Regions from separate parts of the Homo sapiens genome. Here all the other regions are linked to region 3. Evidence: promoter capture Hi-C in human tissues and cell types (Jung and others, 2019). All regions are on one chromosome and are shown on one strand. The core of a region is centred on a gene start or on the middle of the fragment in contact, and the rest is flanking DNA. Distances in the headings are between cores, read along the strand shown.

What was found. Contacts are between HindIII fragments. The study calls those that stand out against the background at their distance.
Region 1: a fragment that was not itself captured here is called in contact with the fragment with the promoter of TFF3 in region 3 in 2 of the 25 tissues and cell types used here (heart right ventricle and lymphoblastoid cells).
Region 2: a contact is called between a fragment that was not itself captured here and the fragment with the promoter of TFF3 in region 3, in 9 of the 25 tissues and cell types used here (IMR-90 fibroblasts, bladder, dorsolateral prefrontal cortex and 6 more).

What each region holds. Positions count from the first base shown.
Region 1 is chr21:42,411,078-42,414,218 of GRCh38, forward strand. UBASH3A (ubiquitin associated and SH3 domain containing A) reads left to right here. Exons shown (of 15, transcript NM_018961.4): 4 at 1,947-2,145; 5 at 2,333-2,446. Among named protein-coding and RNA genes, the nearest start is that of UBASH3A, 8.7 kb to the left of the region's middle. The HindIII fragment of the contact is 6,450 bases long and covers 1-3,141 here.
Region 2 is chr21:42,428,489-42,431,838 of GRCh38, forward strand. All of the region lies in intron 8 of UBASH3A (ubiquitin associated and SH3 domain containing A), which reads left to right. Among named protein-coding and RNA genes, the nearest start is that of UBASH3A, 26 kb to the left of the region's middle. The HindIII fragment of the contact is 9,602 bases long and covers 1-3,350 here.
Region 3 is chr21:42,313,976-42,317,303 of GRCh38, forward strand. TFF3 (trefoil factor 3) reads right to left here and starts at 1,434. Exons shown (of 3, transcript NM_003226.4): 1 at 1,318-1,434. The coding sequence starts at 1,399. RefSeq lists enhancers at 2,534-3,153, 3,154-3,328. The HindIII fragment of the contact is 18,141 bases long and covers 1-3,328 here.

The DNA of each region.
Region 1 (3,141 bases), core at 219-2,718, 97 kb after region 3:
CACACACAGAGACACAGATACACACAGACACACACAGATAGACACAGAGACGTACACAGCACACACAGATACACACACATACCTGCATACAGACATACATAGATATAGACACACAGACACACACATATATACATGCATACATGGATACAGACATACACAGACACACACAGATAGACACACATACACACTACATGTACATAGGTACACATGCAAACAGATACACACAGATATACACACACAGGAATACACAGATACATGCACATAGACACACACAGACACACACAGAGACACACATTAGATAGACACACATGCACAAACACAGACATGCACATACATGCACATACATAGACAAATGCACACATACAGACACACACATAAGCACCACATGCACACATATGCACACAGATACACACATGCATACACACAGACACACATATAGACATACGCAGACACACAGACACACATAGACATACGCATATGCAGACACACACACAGACACACACACATATAGACATATGCAGACACAAACACACTCACACACCTCCCTCTGTCGTTAGCTCCTCCCAGTCCCCCACCCCAGTTCTGGCCTGGCCGTGGTTAGTGGAGCTCCCCTCACAGGCAGAAGAGTGTAACGGAGACTCACTGTGTACCTTGATGCTGTAAAATGAAAACACTAATCTTCCGAAGTGTGATATTGATCACAGCTACACTTATAACATGACTATTCTTGAAAATTACATATCTGAGGCCAAGAAACACAATGTGAGACGGATTCAGGAATGGACATGTGTTCACTGGGTGGTTTTGTGTTGAGTGCCGTTGAGGGTTGCAGAGAAAACAGACAGGGAGGAATGTCAGGCCGGCCTGTCCATGGGGAGACGGAAGCTGCATTAAACACTGTGATCTGGCCTCATACTTGGGCTTGTAAGAAGCACTGTGGGAAATTCCGAGGGCAGCCCGGTGCTGGGAAGAGAAGGGATCAGGCCAACTCCCGCCAGGAGGGTGTGGTGTCTGGGTTTCCCCTGTGGTCCGATGTGGCCAATGGCACTGGGAAGGTTTTCAAGCCCAGGAAGCAGCCTCCCCAGGGCGGTAGGCAACACCGAGCCCAGATGTCAGGAGAGGCTGCGTCTGGCTGGAGGATGGGGGTGGGAGCCCCGTGGGCAAGGCTGTCGGGCCAGCACCTGTCGGGCTCCGTGGGCCTGAGGGATTCTCCAGGTGACAGAGAGCCTGCGGCCTCAGGGGTGGGAGCTGCATCAGAAAGAGGGTCCTGCAGCCACTCAGGGGGCATCAGGGAGGCCGGGCCAGGGGCTGTGCAGGCTCAGGTCCTCCAGGGAGCAGACCCCAAGGCAGAATTCCCAGTGCAGGAGACGCACAGGGGAGAGACTGCTGGTGAAGGCAAAAGAGGAGGAGAGGGTTGGAGGCAGGCAGAGCCTCAGTGCCTTAGAGGAGTCCCTGTGGAACCCGACTCAGTGCTCAGCCGTGGAAGAGAGGGTGGCCCCGCAGCTGGAAGTGCAGCTGAGTCCCGCTCACTACAGGCTCTGAGCAGTGCCTGGGCAGCCTTGGAGTCTGCTAGAAACCTCCAGAAGCCAAATCATGCAAACCTGAGCAAAGCAGTGTGCCATGGGACTGAGGAAAGGGCCTGGCAGGTGATGAGCACGTGCCATGGAGGGAGGGGATGCAGTTCAACGACCAGGGGATTTCCAACCTGGGCACCTAAAGGAGACTCCAACCTGCAAAGAAACTTACCTGAAATATTTGAAAAAACCGAGGTCCAGGTATAGAACAAATCCATAACCCCAGACACAAAGGGACGCAATAAATTATGTTACAGCGCTTTGAACAGAAAAGAATCTCACTTTAATTGCTGCCTGATTGTTATTAATTAAATTAATAGATGACTTCTGATGAGAGGTGTGGAAACACAGGCTCTGTCTCTGTCCCCTTAGTGTGAAGACCAGAAGGTGGAATGCCTGTACGAGGCGCTGAAGAGAGCTGGAGACAGGCTCCTGGGCTCCTTCCCCACGGCCGTGCCTCTGGCTCTCCACTCCTCCATCAGCTACCTCGGCTTCTTCGTCAGTGGCAGCCCCGCAGACGTCATCCGGGAATTCGCCATGACCTTCGCCACGGAAGCATCTCTCTTAGCAGGTGGGCAGCCCTGGCCAGTTGCAAACACAGGGCTGGATTCACAGTGAGTGAGCCCTCTGTGGCAGGGACTAGCCCCCGGCACATGGATGCAGTGGGTGGGTTCCAGGGGAGCAGAGCCCAGCAGCAATGGTGGGATGGCTGGGTGGGCTTTCTTCCGGGCTCAGTGGCTGCACCTGTCCTCACCCAGGCACTTCCGTTTCCCGCTTCTGGATTTTCAGCCAGGTGCCTGGACATGGCCCTAACCTGAGGCTGAGCAATTTAACTAGAGCCTCCTTCGTGAGCCACTACATCCTTCAAAAATGTAAGCCATTAGAAAGCTTCCGGACCAGCTTTGGTCTTCTCTTTAGGCGGGAATAGCCTTGTTCTCATTATGTGGTTTTTAAAATGCTTAGCTATATGCCAACAGCCTGGGAAAGTGCCCCAGAAGGGTGTGCCAAGCATCAAGCCTGAGTGGGTGACTGTGACGGGGTTGGAGGCTGGTGCACACAGGGAGTCAGGGCCTCCCCACCCCAGCCTTGAGTGGGAGACACACAAGTCCTACGTGACTTATTTCTGTATTTTCAGTATGAGCTTAGTGCTCTCTCCTTGGCCTCTCCAGGGAAAGATTATTTAGACTCATATTCAGAATCATCAAAATTCCCTTCTCTCCAAACACCAGCCCTGGCCTGGAGACCAAGGCTACCATTGGGGTTTAGTGGAAAGGATTGTGGACTTGACGTCAGAAGATGTGATTTTTTTCTGTGTCCCTGATGAGTGGCATGACCTTAATCAAGTCATGTCCACTCTCTCTGTCTCTTTTTCTTTCTCTACAAAACAATGAGGGCTCTCACTCTTCAAGAACAATGTTGCCTGAGTCTGTGGCCCATCCTGCCATAGTTCCCGGGACACAGAAGGCACTCAGTATTGCTGAGATTTGCCGACTCTAAAATCTGACGAGGCCGCAGTGCCTTGGTGGGAGGGCTCCCCACTTTCTCTCTCTGGGAGCGTGTCTGTCTG
Region 2 (3,350 bases), core at 196-2,695, 110 kb after region 3:
CTTTAAATGTTTTTAATAAGGACTTTCAGCTATTTAAAAAGATTGAGCTAGTACCATGGATTCCAACAACCCTATCATCTGGAGTAAAACAGAGACCATTCTGTTTTACTCAGCCTAGTGACTTAAATGTTAATCTCATTTTTAAAAAATACCTTCACAGTGACATCTAAAATAACATTTGACCCAATACCTGGGTACTGTGGAGAAGTACCCAGGTATTGGGTAGGGGGAGAGCCTGGAATGGAAGTCTCTGCTCGTAGCTCAGCCTGTGTCTAAACCGTGCTTTCAATGGCTGAAAACAGAACATGCATCTGCCTGTGAACTGGCCCCCCTCACACGGTCTTCTCTATAGGGATTTCACCCCTTCCCTACAGTAAGAAAAGACAACTGGCCACAGGTCTGGTAGAATCATGGCCCCAGAGATGATGCCCTAATCCCGGGAACTTGTGCATGTGACCTTATTAGGAAAGAGAGTTTCTGCAGATGGGATTGAGTGGAGGGTCTTGAAATGAGGAAATGATCCTGGGTCATCCAGGAGGGCCCTAAACCCCATCACAAGTGTGCTGATGAGAGAAAAGCAGAGGGGATCTGATACAGCAGCAGAGGAGGCCATGCAGCCAGAGAGGCAGAGACTGGAGCAATGTGGCCACAAGCCAAGGAACACCTGGGGCCACCAGGAGCTGGAAGAAGCAAAGAATAAATTCTCCCCTAGAATGTCAGAGGGAGCATGGCCCTGCCAACACCTTGACTTTGGACTTCCAGCCTCCAGAGCTGTGAGAGAATAAATGTCTCTTGCTTGGCACCGCCCAGCCTGTTATGGCAGCCCCAGGACACCAATGCAGCACCTTCTGTCTAGAGAATTGGTGCAGCCCTGCCTCATTCCATAGATCCCAGGGGTCAGTCCATTCCACTCCCCACAGGGCTTTCTTTTGCTTTATCATCATATTCCTGTGGCAAAGCTCCACAGAAGAACATTTAAAATGCTCTGAGCTCTTCCAGGAAGAAAATACCCCAAATCCAAAACTTCAGCCCGCAAGTTGAAAACTTCAGGGACTTTGTTACTAGGCAGAATGAGTTTCCAAGAGCATGCATGCTTTGCAATCTACTTGCAGATCAGCTCTCTACAGCTCTCTAGGATGTTTTAATATTCATTCTGGGATAGGGGCGGTGGGTGCTGCCTCTTGGTGTCAGTGTAGGCAACCTCTGCATAACCACACTTCACATGCAAGAGAGCAAGACAGCAAGACAAACCTTCCCCTGAAGCTGTTCCCCAGGAGATGCATGTTTCTATCCTGAAACAAACAACTGAAGTTTTCCAATAAGGGAAAGCAATACTATTCACTTGGCCTTACCGTATATCCGTTTTGAAGACTCAGCCCAGTGACCCTAAGAAAGTGTTTGCATGGTGACTGCAAACGTTCTCACTGGCTCACCAATCCCATAGTTTATGCACCTACCAAATGTAGCCAGGGCCACCGAGAACTGTCTGGTCCTGATAAATTTCAGCAGCTGGAAATTCTGCATCGTCCGGGCCAGCGTGGACTTCACAAGGGATCCACAGGATCTGGCAGGAGCTGCCCGTGGTGCTGACCCCGAGAATGCTTTCAAGGCAGGTGAAATTGGCCCCCACCCTACTTTCTGGTGTCCCTTCCTTCCCAGTAGTTTCCAATCACTTCCCTAGGTACAGGGACACCACGGGGGACCACTCTTGCCAGAGCGAGTGGCCAGTTAGTGCAGACCCTTGAGACTGGATCACTGTTCACAGAAGAAAGTCCAGACAGGAATGATCAGCTGCACTGGCCAGGTGGAAAATGAGTCCCTTCCTCCCTGAGGGTGTTTGGATGTTAAAGCCATTTGCATTTTCCTCTCTAGGATTTGGAGGGAATCAGGGCGATGCTGGGGCTGGTGTATGAGGGTTTATGCAGACAAGGCTTACCTCTCCTCACCTCTCTTCCTTACCCTGCTCAGTAGGAAAACACACACAAGAGCTGCCCTCTCATTTTAGCCCAGAGAGAGCTGTGTGGCCAAGAGGGAGCAGGGCAGGGATAGTGCCTGTCTGAGCTGCCTCCTGCCCAGGGGTCCTCCCTACCCCGTCCATCCCTGGTCGCCTGGGCTCCAGGCAGGATTTGGTCCCCAGAAGGCCCCACAGCCCACCTCCCGTGGCAGGCCGTGTTCGCTCTGCCCCCACCATCTCTGTTAATGACTCATCTTTCCATGTTCATCCCTTGGCCCAGGGAGACCTGCAGCTCCCTAAAGCAGGGATGCTGTGGACTGCAGCTTCATGGACCAGCATGTGACATGCTCCCCCCTGCGGTGCCATGTCACAGGGAGGTTGAGGCATGAGTCCTGGGTGCCAGAGGGCAGCACCACTGGGCCTGTGTTGCTGCAGGGTTCCCCACCTCTTGCTCTGAAATGGACCCCCCTGGATAGCCTGGGCCTGGCTCTGGGGCTGGGAATGTAGGTGAAGGGCCGATGTCAGCTGGCACATTAGTGCCCTCCAGGGAAGCAGCCGAGCCTGGTGTCTCCCTCCAGGGTCCTGGTGCAGGGCTTATGCTCCACGCAGCTGTCCTGGTGGCCTCTAGCTGGCTCGGCCCCTAGCACTCTGCTCTCTGGTCCCAGGGGGGGCATCCTCAGCTCTCATTCACTCTCTTCATCTCATTTGCTGTGGGTTCCTCTCAAGGCCAGTCCCTCAACTTGATCAGCCCTGCACAGCATGGGGAGAAGGGTGGCCTAGCCCCTGAGGACAGAGCCCCCCACAACACCATCCCACACAGTGGAGGCCCCTCCCAAAGGGTAGCCAGCCTCGCTGCCCCAAGCATGACCTTTGGGCTACTTCCCCAAAGCACAGGCTCCCCAGAAAGAGGGCGGGCGTGAGCCCTGTAACTGCAAGGCTCCAAGGCCATCCTGCGGCTGCCTGAGGCTGGGGAGGAAGGTGCCAGAGAGCTGCTGTCCCTGGCTCGAAGCTGCTGGCCACCGCCAAGGCCAGTCTCATGCCGAGAAGAAGTAAATAAACTATAAAGTACTGTTTTCCTTTAGCATTCAGCCAAACAGAGAATGACCAGCTATGGGAAAACAGCAAGGGGATGGATGAGGGCTTCTCCCCTTGGTGCTCAGAAGCAGAATTCATACCTGGGAGCCATAAAAGGACGGCCCCTCAACAGGTCAACACCAGGGCAGTCCTGGAGGGTTTCTCAGAAGAAGTGTGCCAGCAAGAGAGGAGACTAGATATATAGATAGGTAATCTATACTATAACAATACATATTATAATATAGATAGGGATAATGTCCTAAGACGTCTCTATGGGAATGATAAGGACTTAGAAAAGACAGAAAAGTAGAAAAACGGATGT
Region 3 (3,328 bases), core at 184-2,683:
CCTTCATTGTTTGACCAACAAAACCTTGCCCCTTTGTTTTAAATGAAAACCGTGACAGGAGAGGCACACGCCATAGAGATCATTGCAACGCATGCTGCCTGCTTTTCACTTTTTTCTGCATCTCCCCTTCCTGAATTGTTGAGCATGTCCCACCCTCCCGGGACATCCTTCAGTCCCCAATATTTTCATGTTTCAGGCAAGCCTCTATGTCTGTATGTGCAGCAGAAGTTCACTGCGTTTCATTAACGAACTGAGTATTTCCTTAGGAAAATGGCAATCACGTGCAGTGTCTTACATTCCCTTCTCTTGCTCCCAGTCCGTAATTGCTTATCCTCCTGGCATCCAAACTTCGCTCACACTGGAATCAGCTGCAGAGCTTTAAAAATGACTGACGTTGGCTGGGCATGGTGGCTTACACCTGTAATTCCAGCACTTTGGGAGGCCAAGGCAGGAGGATCACTTGAGGCCAGGAGTTTGAGACCAGCTTGGCCAACATAGCGAAACTCCATCTCTACTAAAAATCCAAAAAATTAGCTGGGCATGGTGGTGCATGCCTGTAATCCCAGCTACTTGAAGCCGAGGCACAAGAATTGCTTGAACCCAGGAGGCGGAGGTTGCAGTGAGCTGAGATTGTGCCACTGCACTCCAGCAGTGAGTGACAAAGCAAGGCTATCTCAAAACAAAACAGCTGAGGCCTGGATCTTGCCTGGAGATGCCCTGATGTAACTGGTGTGCCCCAAGCATTAGGATTTTTAAAGCTCTCCAGGTGATTCTAATGGGCTGCAAGTTCGGGAACCACTGCCTTTGACCCTGCTCAGAAGACACCCAGATAAAAGCCATGCCCTCATTCCTTCAAACTTGGGTTAATGGAGCAGCCACACCCCATGGCAGGGTTGCTATGCAATGGCTAAATGAACCTTGTGCCTGCCGGTATTGACAGTGTTCTGAAGTCAGGGTTTTTCTCCTGCATCTTTCCTTTTTCTTTGTAAATGTGGAACAATGCATAAAGACCTATATTGTAATTTAGAAATCTCCAGCAAAGATGGCTATGGGGTCATAGGGGATGGGCTCAGGCTCAAACCCTGATTTCAACACAGACTGGGCAGGGCTGCCTTGGATAAGTTGTTAACTTTCTCTGAGCCTCGGTTTCCTTGTCTGTGAAATGGGGACAATAAAGACCCACTTCAAAGGGCTAGCGCAGGAAAAAGTGTATATGTGACAGGTGGCCATTATTAAATGAATGCAGAATCCCCCCTTATCCTGGATCCCTTCCCTTCACGCCCACCCTGCCACCGGGGCAGTCAGGGCAGTACTCACACAGGCCCACGTACTCCTCAGCAGAGCTGGAGGACAGCAAGGCCAGGACCAGCCCCAGCATGCAGAGCGCTCTGGCAGCCATGACCACCGTGGGCTCCGGGACGCAGCTCAGGACTCGCTTCATGGTCCAGGAGGCCTCATTTATGCACCGTTGTTTGCACAGCTGCTCTGGATTGTTTGCTTGGGGAAGGCTCTCCCTCCTGGCTGTGGCTGCTCCTGTTCTCTCCTGCATGCCTTTGTCAAGCTCCCAGACAGTTTTTCTCTCCCAAAGGGGAGAGGTCAGTTCAGCCCCCACTGTTTTGGCAGCAAGCGGTAAGGGCGGATTCCAGTTCTGGTTCCGGGTCCTCTACTGGGGAGCGGATGTGTGTCAATTGCCCTCCTAGCCTGGCCTGGTGTAGTGTGCAGGAGCCATGTGGGGTGGCAGGACCAGGGTGTGGTGTCCGTTCCATCTCAGCCTCCCAGCCAGAAGCCCTCAGAACACCCCTGGTCCCATGACAAGAGAGCCCCAGGCTGCTTCATCCCAGATCGGCCTCGGAGACAGGCAGCTCTGAGTGAGTCAGGACCCTGCGGCTCTCTCACAACTCCTGAAACACAGAGATTCCTTGTCTTTCCTTTTTGCTTTCTCCCCTAAAAATTAGTAACTACATTTTAATAAGTGGATGAAATGAATTGATTGAAAATATGTTAGTAAAAACATGGTACACATAATTGATTTTTAAAATCAAATAATACAAAAGAGCCTTTCCTATCCAGAGGCATCTATTGATCTATTGTGAACACTTTTTTAGGTATCCTTTCAGAATTTTTCTCTCTGGATCTAAGCACGTTTTTTTGGTTTGTTTTTGTTTGTTTGTTTGTTTTGTTTTTTTTTTGTTTTTTTTTTGTTTTTTTTTTTTGGAGACAGGGTCTTGCTCTGTTACCCAGGCTGGAGTGCAGTGGCACAATCTCAACTCACTGAGACCCCCGCCCTCGCGGGGCTCAAGTGATCCTCCCACCTCAGCCTCCTAAGTAGCTGGGCCACAGGCATGTGTCCAGCTAATATTTTGTATTTTTTTAGAGACCAGGTGTCGCCATGTTGGCCAGGCTGGTCTCAGACTCCTGGACTCAAGTGATCTGCCTTCCTTGGCCTCCCAAAGTGTCAGGATTACAGGCATGAGCCACTGCACTCGGCCACATTTTTAACACAAACAGGAACTGACTCTCCACCTTTGCCCAGCGTGCTCTTTTAAAAACTAAAGACTACATCTCAGGAATTGTTTTATAACAACATATCAGATGAGACAGCGATGATTCTATCCATTTTCCAGAGGAAGAAACTAAGACTCAACATTTCCGGTGCCTATCAGAGGTTACTCCAGTGTCCCTGGTATAGCTGGTATTTAACCCACTCCCAGGACCCTAAGCCTCCGCCCTCGGCATCCGCAGCATCCCCCAACCCCCCAACCTCCTGCAGTGGACTGGCTGGTAGTGGGCAAGAGACTAATCTCATTCCAGGAAAACGGGCCCCTAGATTTTGTGTTCTCCGTGTTTCTTTTCCAGGGAGGCATTTTGATGACCCCCACTGGCCCTTCCAGGAGCCTCTGTCTGAAGGGTGGACTTGGTTTATCACCCCGAGAAATGGGAGCGCCTGGCTGCTTGGATTTAGCCTGCAGCTGGGGTCCCCGGTGGTGTGTGCAGGGCGGCCTTGAGCCTCCAAGGGTGCATCCACAAACTGCCCTTCCCCGAGTGACCCATGGGAGCTCGATGGCGTACGTGCTGAGCACCAGGATGTGTCCTGCCCTGTGACTCCCAGGCCCCGCCCTTGCGCTCAGCACGCCCTTTGTGGATGGATTTGAGGGCCCCTGGCCTCTGATGTGCCACTCCCGCTGAGGCCAGCGAAGGAGGAAGAAGGAAAGAGCGTTGCCTGCCTTGTTTTCGGGGCACTCACTTTTTCTGGGAGACAGCGGACCCAGGTTCATCAATGGACAGCAGGATTTTCATGTTATTAAAAAGGTCATTGTAGGGGAAATCC